Linked DNA regions of Homo sapiens: all the other regions are linked to region 1. The links are contacts of gene promoters, found by promoter capture Hi-C in blood cells and fetal thymus (Javierre and others, 2016). All regions are on one chromosome and are shown on one strand. Each heading gives the region's core, a stretch centred on a gene start or on the middle of the fragment in contact. The rest is flanking DNA. Distances are from core to core; before and after follow the strand shown. Region 1 holds the start of ITFG1 (integrin alpha FG-GAP repeat containing 1). Region 2 overlaps DNAJA2 (DnaJ heat shock protein family (Hsp40) member A2). Region 3 has its middle 57 kb from the start of DNAJA2-DT.

What was found. Contacts are between HindIII fragments. The CHiCAGO score rates a contact against its expected background, and 5 or more counts as called.
Region 2: a contact is called between a fragment that was not itself captured here and the fragment with the promoter of ITFG1 in region 1, in 1 of 17 cell types (naive CD8 T cells). The highest score is 5.0, in naive CD8 T cells.
Region 3: a contact is called between a fragment that was not itself captured here and the fragment with the promoter of ITFG1 in region 1, in 1 of 17 cell types (neutrophils). The highest score is 5.3, in neutrophils.

Annotation. Positions count from the first base shown.
Region 1 is chr16:47,459,337-47,463,007 of GRCh38, reverse strand. ITFG1 (integrin alpha FG-GAP repeat containing 1) reads left to right here and starts at 1,945. Exons shown (of 18, transcript NM_030790.5): 1 at 1,945-2,170. The coding sequence starts at 1,963. It overlaps PHKB (phosphorylase kinase regulatory subunit beta), which reads right to left and starts at 1,677. Exons shown (of 31, transcript NM_000293.3): 1 at 1,582-1,677. The coding sequence starts at 1,657. RefSeq lists a silencer at 1,567-2,036. The HindIII fragment of the contact is 8,409 bases long and covers 1-3,671 here.
Region 2 is chr16:46,954,831-46,958,501 of GRCh38, reverse strand. DNAJA2 (DnaJ heat shock protein family (Hsp40) member A2) reads left to right here. Exons shown (of 9, transcript NM_005880.4): 9 at 1,282-3,140. The coding sequence ends at 1,473. Among named protein-coding and RNA genes, the nearest start is that of DNAJA2, 17 kb to the left of the region's middle. The HindIII fragment of the contact is 197 bases long and covers 1,654-1,850 here.
Region 3 is chr16:47,028,601-47,032,271 of GRCh38, reverse strand. No RefSeq gene overlaps it. Among named protein-coding and RNA genes, the nearest start is that of DNAJA2-DT, 57 kb to the right of the region's middle. The HindIII fragment of the contact is 9,259 bases long and covers 1-3,671 here.

The DNA of each region.
Region 1 (3,671 bases), core at 696-3,195:
ACTCAGTATTTCTATATCACACAAAAACAATTTAAGAAAAAGTGTGAAACAAATACATGTGACTATTCCAAGTCACTTTATTGATTCTTAGTAGTACTAAGGACTACTTTTTGAAAAAATTATCTCATACTTCATAGATGGTAATTTTACTATAACCCTAAGTATATAAAGCTGAACTTTTTGTAAGGTATAAAAAAACAGAGTGTTCGGTGTATGATTTCTGAAATTAGATTTTCAGAAATTAGATTTACTTTCTCCAAAAAAAAAAAAAAAAAAGTCAGTGTGCACAACAGACAACTAAGAACTTCATAAATAGGAAAAGCCCAAAACGTAAGGAGAACATATTAGGTGAGAAAATAATTTTTTTTTTTTTTGAGACGGAGTCTCACTCTGTCGCCCACGCTGGAGTGCAGTGGTGCGACCTCCACTCACTGCAGCCTCCGCCTCCCAGGTTCAAGCAATTCTTCTGCCTCAGACTCCCGAGTAGCTGGGGTTACAGGCGCCCGCCACCACGCCCAGGTAATTTTTGTATTTTTAGTAGAGATGGGGTTTTACCAGGTTGGCCAGGCTGGTCTCGAACTCCTGACCTCAGGTGATCCGCCCGCCTCGGCCTCCCAAAGTGCTGGGATTACAGGCGTGAGCCACCGCGCCCGTCCGAAAATAATTTCTTAATATCAATGCAAGTGCAAAGTTAATTTTCCTAGCTAACACCTTTCACACCCACCCCCAATAATGACACTTCATCAATTCTTTAAAAGGGAAGCTCCTTAGCTGAAAACCTGCATTCCGCCTTTCACCTTTCCTGTTTAAGTGCATGCCTTTTGTTCAAGATTATATCCAGCCAACCAGGAATACAGGAAGTTTTAATAACGCCACAAGTCATGACGTTGCAATTTGAACAAGTCAGTTCGGGACACTTGGAACTGTTAAAACTGCCTGCAAGGCACCTTCTGACCTCTATGCTTTCGGGTTTGGAAACCACACAACCTGGGGCCACTTAAGAAGCCCTTTTCTTTCTGGGCCCTAACTATACTCTTCAATATCTGAGGCCCAGTCTCCTTCAGTTTCTGCTAGATAGATGACAGGTCTACTGCTTAGAACCTGTGGGGAATGTAAAAGGGATATAAGACATAAAGCAAGGAGCCCAGACGCCGGCTTTCTGCAGCCAGATCGTAGTTACATCTGACTTGGTCTGATTAAGCTATCTGACTTTTGCAGAGAACATTCACAGGAAAGACACATTCACAGGGAAGACACATTCCCTTTCCCAGGAATGTGCCGCCGCCCGATTTTTAAGTTAGAAGACTCTAAGGGAAGTCCGGACCGCTGCCTACTTTCCGAGTGGGGCTCACAAGCGGAATAGAGTCGGGGGCACACGCAGAGTGGAGCTGGCTCTGCCACCTAATTTTTAGAGGTGGAGGAAGATATTAGAAACAAGGCCAGGGCCGCCACCTGCTTTCTAAGGAGGAACTCGGGGCACAGGTTCATTCCCAGGGCCCCCACCTGCCTCCCGCCAAGGCGCTTGAGGCGAAGCACCACCCAAGGTACTCGGGTGGGGGGCGGCGCCCCAGCCAGCCAAACCTGAGCGCTTGGTCCGAGCTCTTCGCTCCAAGACCTTCCAGCTCACTTCTGCCGTGAGTCCCGCCGCCCCCGCCATCGCGCTCCGGTCGCCGCCTTGGCCACCGCCCCCGGGGCCGCCTGTCAGCAATGCCGGGCCACGCCCCCCGCACGACACTGTCGGGAGGCGCGCCTGCCGGAAGTGAGCGTGAGGGCGGCTTTCACCCTAGCTCCACTGCTTTTTTAGCGTCGGAAGGGCAGCCCTAGTGGGAGAGAGAAAAAGGAGCCGGCAGCGGCTCTTACGCGTCCCGGGGCTGCGCGCCACTCTCTCGGCCGGTAACGCGGTGCTTTGCGGCTGTCGTCAAGCGCGGCGTTGGGCCGGCGGGCGGGGGCTGAGGGGCTGCCATGGCGGCGGCGGGCCGGCTCCCGAGCTCCTGGGCCCTCTTCTCGCCGCTCCTCGCAGGGCTTGCACTACTGGGAGTCGGGCCGGTCCCAGCGCGGGCGCTGCACAACGTCACGGCCGAGCTCTTTGGGGCCGAGGCCTGGGGCACCCTTGCGGCTTTCGGGGACCTCAACTCCGACAAGCAGACGGATCTCTTCGTGCTGCGGGAAAGTCAGTGCTTGCCGGGCCCTCCCTCTGTTCGCTGTCCGTGTGCCTCTCCCGGTGTTCCCCAAACCCATTGCCCAATGGCCGGTCCTTCTGCATTTCCTGGTCCTTCTCTCCCAGCCCTGTGGCCTTCCCTTTAGCATTCTTAACAGCTTGTCCTTTTGCACCACCCTTTCCAACCCCAGGTTCTGACCCAGCTACCCTACAGTTTGACCTACCCTCAAAAGCCCTGACAGCACCTCAGTTTTGTTCCTAAGAAGTCTGCGGCCCTCACCCAGTCACCTTACCCCCTCCTCCCCATGGAATCACCTGTTTTCCAAAGTGCTTCCTGATTCCTAGGAATCTTTGTAGCTTGCCTCAACGTTCGCTCCCAAGGCCCACTCATTCCTTTCTATTTTGCTTCAGTCTTCCTTCCCCGTTGATGAACATGAAAAGGTGCAACCTGACAATCTCTTCTCATAGGGGGCTTCTTCTTGCCTCCCCACCTACCTAATTCGCCCACCCCTTTCTTTGTCAAGGCCACAACTTTCTATGAAGCGAATGTACCCTTCCAAGGGCCTAAACACTAAACAGCTCACACAAGCATTTTGCAGGGACCACTGATAAACCCAATGCCTCCTTGGGAAAGCAGTCTCAAACTACAGAAATTTCTCTCTTGAGCTGCCTGTTCTTTCGTGTACTCCTTCCTCATCTTGGTCATCACCTTAGTGTTCCAAATGTCTACTTTCTTTGCTAACTTGTTCTTGGAAATTCTTTGCTTTGACAATCGTTAAACTAACTTTTTTGTAAATCTTGATGCTGACAGTGGGCATTAGGGGGTCTTAGGGTTCTTGAGTACCTACAGAAGCAGGTGCTGCTTAAAGATCAATGCTGTGAAGGAAGGAAGGAAGAGCTACTCAGAGCTTGCCTGACAGGATCCTGAACCAGACTTCTTGGAGCCCTTGCGGGGATGCAGGAACCTCTTACAAACCCTGAATATTTTCCCAATCTTTTTGACTCCTCATTTTGCAGTGTACTGCCAAACCTGTTGCTGCTGTGTCCAAACTGGATACAGAGAGTAGCCTTGACTTTAAAGATGGCCTGTGTTTGATTAAACAATTCCAAAAGTCTGTCTCAATGAGTGCTAATTGAGCTCCAAGAATGTGTCACCCTCTGGAGGATGGCCCCATAGGAGGAGGGTCTTGGAGGATTCAGCATTTTGTGCTCACATGCTTAATTATGTCTTTGTCAGATATCTACAATGGGAGTCCCTGCATCCTTGGTGTGATGCATCTGTGTAATGAACCAAACAGCCTTACAAGGGACAGCATTGCTAGATTCGGGGAAGACAAGTCTTGACATGTAGTATAGTTATAAGGCATCTTTATATGGTTCTTTTAAGTCAACCAATCTGACTCCTCGCAGAATCCACTGGCTTCAGTTTCTCTTGATCAGCTGCTTTTTCCCATGTTCATCCTTTCTATTTCTCTGCTACTTTGAACATTGAACTTGTGATATAATGTTAGGC
Region 2 (3,671 bases), core at 503-3,002, 500 kb after region 1:
AGCTCCACCTCCTGGGTTCATGCCATTCTCCTGCCTCAGCCTCCCAAGTAGCTGGGACTGCAGGCACCCGCCACCACGCCCCGCTAATTTTGTTTTTGTATTTTTAGTTAGAGACAGGGTTTCACCATGTTAGCCATGTTAGATCGATGGTCTCGATCTCCTGACCTCATGATCCACCTGCCTCGGCCTCCCAAAGTGCTGGGATTACAGGCGTGAGCCACTGCACCCAGCCAAGTTTCTTTCTTTTTAAGAGAGTCTCGCTCTGTTGCCCAGGCTGGCGTGCAGTGGCATGATCATGGCTTGCTACGGGTGTGTACCACCACACCTGGCTAATGCTTTTTAAAACTTTTTATAGAGATGTTGCTATGTTGTCCAGACTGGTCTCAAGCAATCCTCCTGCCTCCCGAAGTTCTGGGATTGCAGTCGTGAGCCACTGCACCCAGCCGACTTCAAGTTTCTTAATAGTCATGTTACTTTCAATTTTAAAGTATATTTGTGTGATTGGTAGGCTTTCCTAGTTGTTAGGAAATGGGGTATTGCTGGTGTAAATGTTGATGGGGCCAAGCAGGGAATTGTAGAGGAGTAAAGTAGACCCGGTGTGGGTGGTGATGAGGAGTAGCACTCCCTGGAGAGAACAGGTTCCTCATTTGCAGAGGGCAGGACCACTACCCCTTTATCGTAAGCTGGTGTCCATGCCGGATGCAGGAAGGTGTGTCTCCTGTAGAAACTTTCTAATGTTTAAGTATTGGCAGATAATGACCTTTTTTTTGGTTCTTAAAGCAATAGATGGGTTGCACAAAAGATGTCTGCAGAATTTGGCCTGTGAGTGATGAGTTTGTGATCTTTTACTTAGAGTTCAAAGTCCAGTCCACATTCCTTTTTTTAACTTTTTTTTTTTTGAGATGGAGTCTTGCTCTGTCACCCAGGCTGGAGTGCAGTGGCACAATCTCAGCTTACTGCAACTTCCACCTCCCAGGTTCAAGCGATTCTCCTGCCTCAGCCTTCTGACTAGCTAGGATTACAGGTACCCACCACCATGCCTGGCTAATTTTTTGTATTTTTAGTAGAGACAAGGCTTCACCATGTTGTCCAGGCTGGTCTCATCTCCTGACCTCATTATCCGCCCGCCTCAGCCTTCCAAAGTGCTGGGTGGGATTATAAGCATGAACCACCACACCCAGCCCCTTTTTAAACTCTTAAACAGACACTGGATTCTATGTATCAAAAGGAAAGTTGATGAAAATATTACAACCAACCTGGTTTTTGTTTGTTTTAATAAAGGAACTAGAAGATCTTCTGCCATCTAGACCGGAAGTTCCTAACATAATTGGAGAAACAGAGGAGGTAGAGCTTCAGGAATTTGATAGCACTCGAGGCTCAGGAGGTGGTCAGAGGCGTGAAGCCTATAATGATAGCTCTGATGAAGAAAGCAGCAGCCATCATGGACCTGGAGTGCAGTGTGCCCATCAGTAAACTCTGCAAACAAATTGCACAGGTGGATTTTCTTTCCACATTTGCCTGATTTGTTCTCAGCAATCCAGCTGGAGTGTCTTATCAATCCAGATGAACTGAGGGACATCTGTTGGTCTATGTATAACTTTTAAAATTGGTATAGTATCTACAGAGTGTATAATTTAAACTAACCACAAAGCTTTACATCTTCATTTTGACTGTTCCATAGCAGAATAAAGCACTTGAAAGGAAACAAGACTCCCTTTCACACATGGATTATTATAAGTTTCAATCCTGGTATCTGTGCTTGATTTTTATCAGTTTTGTGTAGATTTTTATGTTTCATATTTTAAATTTAAATCCCACATTGTAAAGTTTGTACAATTTGTCCTGAAGCTTTGTGTTTGGCTGCACCTGCATAAGCTGCTACAAATAGAATAAAGAATTTCATAGCCTGTATCTATCATTTAGATGCATGGAAAAAAATGGGCTTTGCACACAATGGGTTTGGAGCTGACTGGGAACAATGGAAAAAATTACATTAGCTGTGGTTGTAAAGTTTTTTTGTTTTTGGTTTTGTTTTTTTTTTCTTTTTTCTTTTTTTTTTTTTTTACCATCTTGTGAAAGGTTTCTGAAACTCGATAATAAAAAGCGGTTGGTGTAAATTATTCTTTTGTGTCACATTTTTAGAAGGAAAAACATAAAAGAATGTATCCTTAGTACTGGTTCTTAAACAGCCCATAAAAACCCATTGGCCTGAAGCTTATATCTCAGGCCTATGCCCATCTTATAGTCTTGGAAGACAAAAGGCTGGTAGAGACAGTCTTCAGTGGCTTCAGTGATGCTCTGTAGAGGCCAGGGTGTCTTGAGTGCTGTAACTCCCAAGCACTGGGCTAGCCTGACTTCTGTATCTCCCTACCACCACCCCCTTAAAAAAATAAGGTAACAGCAAATCTATAGTAAAACCATGTCTGCATAGAACGTGTTCAAATCCTCTGTTTTCATTAAATGTAAAAGATGCTGTCTCCATTAAGTTGAATATTTGGAATTGGAGAAGCCATTGATTATTATTTTGAGTTTCTGTAATGTTTTATAGAAAAGTAAGATGCTTATTCAGAATTTAAGAATGAAGGCAACTGAAATATGCATTGTTGTAGTTATTTATATTTCAAACTAAAAATAAGCAAAAAAAAAAGGCTGGTTTGAGAAAAATCAGGTAAAATTGATGAAACGGATGTTGTGTTTCTCTTTCCATCATCTGGTTTTTACCATTTCACTCAGTAGGTATTTTTAGAACACACTTATTTGAGGAAAGAGACATCAGATGCACAATTTTACATTTATAAAGGAACAAATGGGGAAAACTGAAAACTAAAAATTTTAAATGTATTAAATGCCATCCCTGAGCCTAAATCTAGTATTTGTAGTTTATTTCTAGGTCTGCTAGAACCTGAAAACCTGAATGAAAAAAGGTGTGCTGACACTAATCAAGTCCTGTGAGGTTTAAATTATTGACCTATCCACTCTACCTCCATTGTACAAAAAATATTTTACAACAAGCCTGGGTAAGATTCAACAGCATAGTAGTTTTGTATCCAAGGTTACTTCCCCACAACCACTTTAAACATAAGAAATGTGGTGGCAATATAAAGTTTGTAGCCTTTCCAATAAAGGTTTATAAAACAGTTGTTCAGTGTAGTCTGTCTTTCATTTCTACCCAGGTGTTTTGACTGTAGGCAAGAAAACTACTGGAAGAGAGTTTCTGTTAAGGTGTGTTATTTCACTTGGTCTCCTTGCTCTAGTTTGTAGAGCACCTGTCGAGAGAACCAACCATACAGTGTCACCAGCACAGATAATTTTTTGTAACAGCTTTATTCCAGATATGATTTACATACCATAAAATTTACCACTTTAAAAAATTTGCCACAATTCAGTTGATTTCAGTATATTCAGCCATCTCCACTAATTTCAGAACATTTTCATCAAAGAAGAAACCCTCTATCCATTAAGTCACTTTCTGTTCCATTCTCTCCTCAACTCCTGGTGTAATCACTAATGGCTAATTCTGCTTCTAAATATTTGCCTATTTTGGACATGTTGTATAAATGAGATCAAAATATGTGGCCTTTAGTGATGCATTCATTTAGCTTAATGTTTTCAGGGTTTATCCTTGTCGGCAGCATGGATCAGCACAGTAACAGCAGGGACCTATTCTGAGA
Region 3 (3,671 bases), core at 843-3,342, 430 kb after region 1:
ACAGGTGCACGACATCACGCCCGGCTAATTTTTGTATTTTTAGTAGAGACAGGGTTTTGCTATGTTGGCCAGGCTGATCTCAAACTGCTGACCTTTTCCCTGAGCCTGAGACCCAAAACTCCATCTGCCATCTTGACATCTCCATGTGGATGAGCCCAACTCAACACGTTCAAACCAAACTCAGGCGCTTCCCCCACCTGCCCCTCCCGATTACCCCTCCGGTGCTCTCTGTCTCAAGGAAGGATTCCCCAACCTTCCAGTGCAAAACCCAGAAACCTACAATCACCTACCTGTGTCTGTTTTGAGACACTTCCCTCACCCTCAGCCTCTATAGCAGATGCTGCTGGTGCCTGACCCACATGCCACAGGACTGACCTTGTCCATGGCATTGGCACACGCCTAACCACCAGGATCTGTACAAGGAAGACAGGGAAAGCCATTCTTCCTAGGCAAGGCAGACTGGAGATGCCAGGAAGTTAGAACTCTCCAGCAACAGCCTTTGGCCAGTGACTGATGGCTCCCTCATCCCTCTGAAGTGTATGTATCATTCCTTTCACTGAATTTCCCTGTGTGTATATTTTTAAAATTCCATTTAAAAACTTAAACTAGGCTGGGTGCAGTGGCTCATGCTTGTAATCCTAGCACTTTGGAAGGCCAAGGCAGGTGGATCACTTGAGTTTAGGAGTTCGACACCAGCCTAGCCAAAATGGTGAAACCCTATCTCTACTAAAAATACAAGAAAATAGCTGGGCATGGTGGCGCGCACCTGTAATCCCAGCTACTTGGGAGGCTGAGGCAGGAGAATCCCTTGAACCCGGGAGGCAGAGGTGGCAGGGAGCCGAGACAGCACGACTGCACTCCAGCCTGGGTGACAGAGTGAGACTCTGTCTCAAAAGAAAATTAAAAATAAATAAATAAAAAGTTAAATTAAAAATGGGGCTGGGCGCTGTGGCTCACACCTGTAATCCCAGCACTTTGGGAGGCTGAGGTGGGCAGATCATGAGGTCAAGAGATCGAGACCATCCTGGCCAACATGGTGAAACCCCATCTCTACTAAAAATACAAAAATTAACTGGGCCTGGTGGCACACGCCTGTAGTCCCAGCTACTTGGGAGGCTGAGATGGGAGGATTGCTTGAGCCCAGGAGTTTGAGATCAGCCTGGGTCACATAGTGAAACCCCGTCTCTACAAAAACATACAGAAATCAGCTGGGCCTGGTGGCACATGCCTTGGTCCCAGCTACTCAGGAGGCTGAGGTGGGAGGATCACCTGAGCCCGGGAGGTGAAGGTTGCAGTGAGCTGAGATTGCACCACTGCACTCCAGCCTAGGTGACAGAGCAAGGTGACTGTCTCAAAAAAAAAAAAAAAAAATGCCTGGCACAAAGCAAACACTAAATAAATAAAAGCTATTATGGAGGGAATAATGCTGTTCCTTCCAAGCGTCCAGTACAATTGTCAATCCAGGAAGCTCAGCCATTTTAACCTGTGCCTCCAAATGCCCCTGATTTCCCTTAGTTTCTGATCGCTGAAGAAGATCCAGGCCAGCCAGGAGCTGTCTGGGGGACATCGCCTACAGGCAATCCCCTCACCCAATTATAGTGAGAAGCCAGTGAGCCTTGGAGATATTGAGGCTTACAAGCACAAAGCATGATTATCGCATGTTTAGGGGACCCAGGGCAAGAGATGTCCCTCAAGTGAATTGGAAGCCCCAAGGCCTACACCAGGCTGCTCAACTGGTTCCATCCACCTGCTCTTGGCCTTTTTTTTTTTTTTTTTTTTTTTTTTTTTGAGACAAAGTCTTGCTCTGTCACCCAGGCTGGAGTGCAGTGACACGATCTCGGCTTACTGCAACCTCTGCCTCCTGGGTTCAAGCAATTCTCCTGCCTCAGCCTCCTGAGTAGCTGGGATTACAGGCGCCCACCACTTCACCCAGCTAGTTTTTATATTTTTAGTAGAGACAGGGTTTCACCTTGCTGGCCAGGCTGGTCTTGAACTGCTGACCTGAAGTGATCTGCCTGCCTCGGCCCCCCCAAGTGCTGGGATTACAGGCCTGAGCCACCATGCCTGGCCTGCTGTTGGCTTTTGAGTGGGTGGACACACATTTAATTAGGTTCAATTGGAGGTTATCAGAAAGAACCAGGATGTCAAACACTTCCTCTCTGAGATTCAGCCAGTGGCCTGACCTGCTATGTGGCAATCTGATTATGGTTTACTTGGGCATCATGTCCACAGAAATCCCAAAGGGCGGTGGCGTCAGTGGCATCATTTGCTGGAGCAAAGCATCCTTGATGCCAATCCTCTGAGACACTTGACATGTGCTGTCTCATCAACTCACTCCAAAGTTACTCTTCTTAAAGGTTCTGAAGCTCAGAACAGTCAAGACAGTTGCTCAAGGTCACACAGGCAAGATTGAAAACCAGATCTGCCTGGCCTAAATTCTTTCTCCAAGGTCCCATCCAGTGACCTGAATCCCAAACTCAGGGTTCCTGGACCTCATCCTCCCACTCCTCATTCAGTACATCTGGGAACGGGCCTGAGAATTTGTGTTTTAAAAGTTTCCTGGGCAACTCTGAAGATCAGCTACATTTAAGAACCATTTATAGGAAGCCATTGTTTCCCTAAATCCAAACAAAATGGCCCTATGAGGCTGTTTGTGGCCTTGGCCCAGTTTAACCTCTGGCTTTATACAATAGGCTAACAAGTCAGTGGCTAACTCATAAATTATGCCTGATGTTATTTCAAATCAAGCCTTTTGGCACCTCAATATATAACGTCCTTTATTTACTGACGAAATCTCTCTATTCTAAAAGAGCACTTATTCCATGACTACGAACACTGCAGACCCCTTCAGCCCTGTGCGCTTCTCACACTATAACCTTCTAGAGGCAGAAATTGAGCCCCTATCATCTCACCCTGCACAGAAAGACATTTCATACGTTTCTTACCCCAGCACACGTGACTTGATAGGAAAAGGCATTTTCCTAGTCAACCTCCAATTTTACAGCAGCAATTTTGGTTCCTGGAGTTCTGCAGGTTCCTTTCTGGCAGGAAGATTAGACCAAGAGCTGCATTAAAGGTACAGTTCTGTGCCCTCCAAGGCACTAATAGACTGGAATCATGTCAGAGCTTTCTAGAGCAGAACTATGTCTACAGTCAGAACTGAGTCTCAACCAATTCAGGAGACAAGTTGCTACTTATGAAAAGAAGACTCATTGAGTTTATAAATGGATTTTTTATGTTCTTGCCCAGCTTCTGTTTCCAGCACTGAAGCGTGCTAGATGACGCTTCTAACAAATGCCTTTCCCGATTCAGAAACTGAGCTTTAGATAAGAACCACTTTTACTAAGCCAAAGAGTCTATCTAAACAGTAGCTTATTTCATAAAGACTGTATTTCTCTCTATTAAAACACTATAACCCTATTGTGTTCAACTATCGCTCACAGAAAGCCTTAAGGAGCAATAACTTAGTGGCAAAAGTAAATGTTTAAATGCTCTATAAAAATATATATATAGTTATATAGCCATACTTAAACATTTAAAAATAAATGGCTGGCTCTCCTGTTGAGCCTCTTTCCTGCTGAGTTGGCCAGAAAAGATATTTTTTTTAAGACTTGAAGGTTTTTTTTTTTTTTTTAGGCAGAGTGACACTCTGTCACCCGGGCTGGCATGCA